Regions from separate parts of the Homo sapiens genome. Here region 1 is linked to region 2. Evidence: promoter capture Hi-C in 16 types of primary human blood cells and fetal thymus (Javierre and others, 2016). All regions are on one chromosome and are shown on one strand. Each heading gives the region's core, a stretch centred on a gene start or on the middle of the fragment in contact. The rest is flanking DNA. Distances are from core to core; before and after follow the strand shown. Region 1 has its middle 65 kb from the start of RBMX. Region 2 holds the start of LINC00892 (long intergenic non-protein coding RNA 892).

Region 1 (2,700 bases), core at 40-2,539, 310 kb before region 2:
TGTTTTCCTGTGGTTTTTACTATAAGAATAAAAGTCCTTACATTTAAATGTTTAATAACTGATTGATAACTGACAAAAATGTATAAGGACCTCAGCTTTCAATCAACTTATGATAATAGCTTAGACTTTGAATAGTATTCTATTCTCAGTAGCTGAAGAAAGGTTTATTAAATGTCTTCAGAGTACATTTCACTTTTTTTGTTTTTTTTTTTTTTGAGACAGTATCACTCTGTCACCCAGGCTGGAGTACAATGGCGTGATTTCGGCTCACTGCAACCTCTGTCTCCCAGGTTGAAGCGATTCTCCTGCCTCAACCTCCCAAGTAGCTGGGACTACAGGCACTTGCCACCATGCCTGGCTAATTATTGTATGTTAAGTAGAGATGGGGTTTCACCATGTTGGTCAGGCTGGTCTCGAACGCCTGACCTCAGGTGATCCGCCCGTCTCTGCCTCCCAAAGTGCTGGGATTACAGGTACGAGCCACAATGCCCGGCCCCTTCAGAGTGCATTTCATTCCTTTCCTCAGATTACACTTCTGTATTTCATCCAAAGATTAGAAGACTGGACTATACTTATTGGACTAGTAAATTGCCTGTTTTCACCAATCGTACTTTGGGTAAACTACAGGATGTAGGATCAAGTAATCCTGACCTCTAGCTAGATGATTCAAGGCACACACACACATTTCTAACATAAATGGTTCTCATTTTCTTTACAGTGACTCTGAGGCAGAAAATATAATAGACCCTTAAGAAAGAAAGCCAGAATGGTATAGTAGAAAAACTGAGTTTGGGGGCCAGACAGACATGGTTTTGAATATCACTTGCACCACCTGCTAGCTGTGAACCTGAGAAAATTACTTGAGCTTGCTGGGCTTCAGTAGCCTCATTTATAAAATGGAGATAACCACTAAAGGTGATACATAGGGACAAAAGCGAGGTATTCCTAATGTGGAATTGCTTTCAGAATGAGATTAGGAAGAATCATTTTATAATGGCTGTCAGGCCATCTACAGAAATGACACAAACCAAGCACAATTTGTAAATTTTCGAGATTTGAGACCTAGCCCCAAATACAGTAATTAGGGTTTGGTCTCAGGAAAGAATATCTGAAGCTATAAAAAATAAGCCTTAGATGAAACTGAGTGTAACAAAACCTGGATCAAAAATATGATATCCAGCTGGGCACAGCGGCTCACGCCTGTAATCCCAGCACTTTGGGAGGCCGAGACGGGCGGATCCTCTAAAGTCAGGAGTTTGAGACCAGCCTGGCCAGCATGGTGAAACCCCATCTCTACTAAAAAAAAAAATACAAAAATTAGCCAGGCATGGGGGCAGGTGCCTGTAATCCCAGCTACTTGGGAAGCTGAGGCAGGATAATCATTTGAACCCGGAAGGCAGAGTTGCACTGAGCTGAGATCATGCCATTGCACTCCAGCCTGGGCAACAGAGTGAGACTCCATCTCAAAAAAAAAATAAATATATATATATATATACACACACACACACACACACACACACACACGTATACAAATATATATATATGATACACAGTCTAAAAAAGACTAAAAATGGAAATACATAGATCTACATAGTCATAAAGGGTTTTCCCTATTAAAAGAATAGCCTGAAATCAGTCCTTTGGTGAAGCACCACTAATACAGTCCGGAGCTAAGAGTCACTGACCCATGAACACAAACATCTGGTCCAGGGGCAAGTAAAGCACTAGAGTGTCATGAATATCTTTTAAATGGCTTTGTTTTTCATATTTCATATCATTCTTTTTCAATATACTAAGTAACCCATCCTGTAATCTTAACTGCATGTCTAGAGAATTAGATGAAGCAAAAATCATATTTATAAGCACTCAAAGATTTGAGGGCCTACTGTGTATAAAGCAGCATGCTTAGAAATGAAAGATACCAAAAATATAATCTACATGACCTTTTTGTCTGAAAAAAACTTTAAAAATAGAAGATGGAAACAAACTAGAGAAGTTTGAAATCAGAGAGGAGTGATGCAGCTAGCAAATGCCTGGTCAGGGATGTGGAGACTTACTACTCAAAATGTAAAGAGGAATAAAGGAAAAATAGGAGAAAAATAAAAAGGAGAAACAGTGATGCTTCCCTTTTGATTTACTTACTCAGCATACAATTTATCCCTTGGCTTCTGTGTAATGAATAATAGGTAATCTTTATGGAATTGTCTATACATGTGTATGCATAATAAAACCATTCACTCACAGTTGGGAAAAATTACTGATGTGCATCTCTTTCTATTCATTTTTGTAACCCTAGTGCCTGGTACATAATATGCCCTTTTAAGTGTTTCTAGAATGAATAAATTCTATTTAAAGCTGAAAAACTTTTTATTTTATTGTTTTATTTTATTTTAAGACAGAGTCTCTTATTTTGAGATGGAGTCTCACTCTTTCACCCAGGCTGGAGTGCAGTGGCGTGATCTCGGCTCACTGCAACTTCCACCTCCCAGGTTCAAGCGATTCCCATGCCTCAGCCTCCCGAGTAGCTGGGATTACAGGCATCCACCACCACGCCTGACTAATTTTTGTATTTTTAGTAGAGATAGGGCTTCACCATGTTGGCCAGGCTGGTCTGGAACTCCTGACCTCAGGTGATCCGCCCACCTCAGCCTCCCAAAGTCCTGGGATTATGGGCATGAGCCACAGTGCCCGGCCCAGAAC
Region 2 (2,700 bases), core at 110-2,609:
ACAGGAACTAGCATGTGGAAGGACCCACAGGCTGGAACTCATGGGCTCGTTCTTCTCTTACGGCTGCAGGCTTGGGATCAAAGCCTTCCTCTGGTCTCTGCACAGCACCTCAGGTTCTCCAGTCAGCCCTTAATGTGGAACATGAAATATCAGGTGTTTATAGAACAAAAAGTTCCCTTTCTTCCACGGTGAAGGGTCTCAGGGATGGCATGCTCTGCAGGTGGGCACATAGTTGGCACCTGTTTTCCTTCAAATATCAGCCTGACATGATTGAACATTTAAGACTTGTCTGTGTGGTTCTAGTCCATTTTTTTAAACCTCCCTTGCTCTAGTCTCAGCCTGCCTTTTTTTTTTTTTTTTTTTTTTGAGACAGAGTCTTGCTGCGTCGCCAGGCTAGAGTGCAATGGCGCGATCTCTGCTCACTGCAATCTCCATCTCCCAGGTTCAAGTGATTCTCATGTCTCAGCCTCCTGAGTAGCTGGGATTACAGGTATGCACACCACGCCTGGCTCATTTTTGTATTTTTAGTAGAGACAGGGTTTCACCACGCTGGCCAGGCTGGTCTGGAACTTCTGGCCTCAAGTGATCTGCCCACCTTGGTCTCCCAAACTGTTGGGATTACAGGCGTGAGCCACCATGCCTGGCCTCAGCCTGCTTTCTGCATCTCCCCTAGAGCTCCAGGACTTTAGTAGGCTAGCTCCTGGCTCCACTGCCCAGAAACCCCTCTCCACAGCCTTTCCCCGCCTACCCTGCAATTTACCTCTACCATGATCCTTCTTCTTGACTTAACTCATTCAGGGCTCTCTCTCTCTCTTTCCAACTTCTAACTGGTGTCCTCCAGGCTGCCCTCTTCAGTTCAGACCACAGGCTTGGGCAATTTCTGTCTCTCTGATTCTTCCTGTGGTCTGTTCCTGACAACCCCTTGGGGGCTGTTTGTGAAATGTGCCCTCTGCTTCTAACTCATCTCTTAGGTATCCTCACAGGAGACTGCCTTCTTAGTGGGGGCCTGACGCAGAAGACCTCTAGTTCTCCCACAGTGTCTTCTGGGGCCAGGCCCGCTGTTTCTCACTGAGGCTCGGAGAAAGGCAATGACTTACCATGGTCATGCAGCATGTTAGCGGCAGAGCTGAGAGTACCCCAGGCCTCCTGACTTCCAGCCCAGTAGTCTTTTCCAGGAATCAAGCTGCCTCTCGGAAGACTCAGGTCTTCTAGCCAGCATCAGCTCCCACCCACTGACTGCACTGTGCACCCATCTCTGTTAGCACTTCCTTCCTGAGCCACTTCATTAAAACTGAAGCTGGCCCGTCCAGGCTTCTGACTCAGCAGCCCAGCAAAGAACATCCAGCCATGTCTGCATCTGATTAAGGAAACGCCAGGGGCAGGAAATATATATATATATATATTTTTTTCCTGGCTGAGTCAAGGGGTGCAAAAGGAGGTGGAGAGATTCAGTAAAATAGTTAAGATTTGAGTAGAAGGTAATCTTTCAGCACAAGATGTACCACAGGGACCACAGGGGTGGAAGAGAAATGGAAGGGCTTTATCAAAAGATTTAGGATTACTAGTTAAATACATTTTGGTACAGAAGTATATTACTGGCTTAGAAGGACCCCTGTGATACACTGATAGTGCAAATATCATGGCAGAAATAGGATGTCCCCAGTTTTTTTTTTTTTTTTTTTTTTTTGACAGAGTTCCACTCTTGTTGCCCAGGCTGGAGTGCAGTGGCATGATCTCGGCTCACTGCAACCTCTGCCTCCTAGGTTCAAGCGATTCTCCGGCCTCAGCCTCCTGAGTAGCTGGGATTACAGGCACCTGCCACCACGCCCAGCTAATTTTTGTACTTTTAGTAGAGACGGGGTTTTGCCATGTTGGCCAGGTTGGTCTTGAACTCCTAACCTCAGGCGATCCGCCTGCCTCGGTCTCCCAAAGTGCTGGGATTACAGGTGTGAGCCACTGCAACCGGCCCAGTTCCAGTTTTGTAAAAATAAGTTGAGAGTGTCCCTAAAGTGCTTATGAGTAGTAGCTAAAAGTTCCCCTCCATGCTCTGCACCCATGTTAATTTTTGCCCACAGGTAGATAATTGGAAAACAATTACCACAACCTTTGATAGCTATTGTGGCACGGGTGTTCCCCTGTGAATAAGTGGAGTTGGGAATCTTTCTTCATCACAGTGCCCCATGGTGAACTGCGCCATCTTGGTAAGCGTGGACCTGGGACAGTTTCCACTAGAGCACTTCCACATATAACTCAATAGCCCGTATCTTTGACATCAGGATGTTTTCTGACTTTGAGGAGAAGGATGTCCTGGTACTCCTTGTCACAGGGTGGCTGATGCCTGGAGCCCTCTCTCTCCCCTGACATCGGGGAACCAACCACATCTGAAGCAGTTTCAAATAAGCAGTAGGGTTGATATCTGTTCTGGGTTGAACAGTGTTCCCCTCCCCAAATTCATGCCCATGTGGCACCTGTGAATGTGACTTTTTTGGGGGGGAAATACTTTGTAAATGTAATTAGTGAAATTAATATAAGGTCAAACTGAATTAAGGTGGGCCCTAATTCAATGACTAGTGATCTTATAAGAAGAGGGAAATTTGAACACAGACAAACACAGAGGGAAAACAGCCATGCAAAAACAGAGGCAGGGATTGGAGAGATGTGTCTACAAGCCGCAGAACATCAAGGATTGCTGGCAACCAT

Evidence for each region. Contacts are between HindIII fragments. The CHiCAGO score rates a contact against its expected background, and 5 or more counts as called.
Region 1: a contact is called between a fragment that was not itself captured here and the fragment with the promoter of LINC00892 in region 2, in 1 of 17 cell types (neutrophils). The highest score is 5.7, in neutrophils.

The regions. Positions count from the first base shown.
Region 1 is chrX:136,943,954-136,946,653 of GRCh38, reverse strand. No RefSeq gene overlaps it. Among named protein-coding and RNA genes, the nearest start is that of RBMX, 65 kb to the right of the region's middle. The HindIII fragment of the contact is 5,509 bases long and covers 1-2,700 here.
Region 2 is chrX:136,638,202-136,640,901 of GRCh38, reverse strand. It overlaps LINC00892 (long intergenic non-protein coding RNA 892), which reads right to left and starts at 1,359. Exons shown (of 3, transcript NR_038462.1): 1 at 1,098-1,359; 2 at 62-128. The HindIII fragment of the contact is 12,266 bases long and covers 1-2,700 here.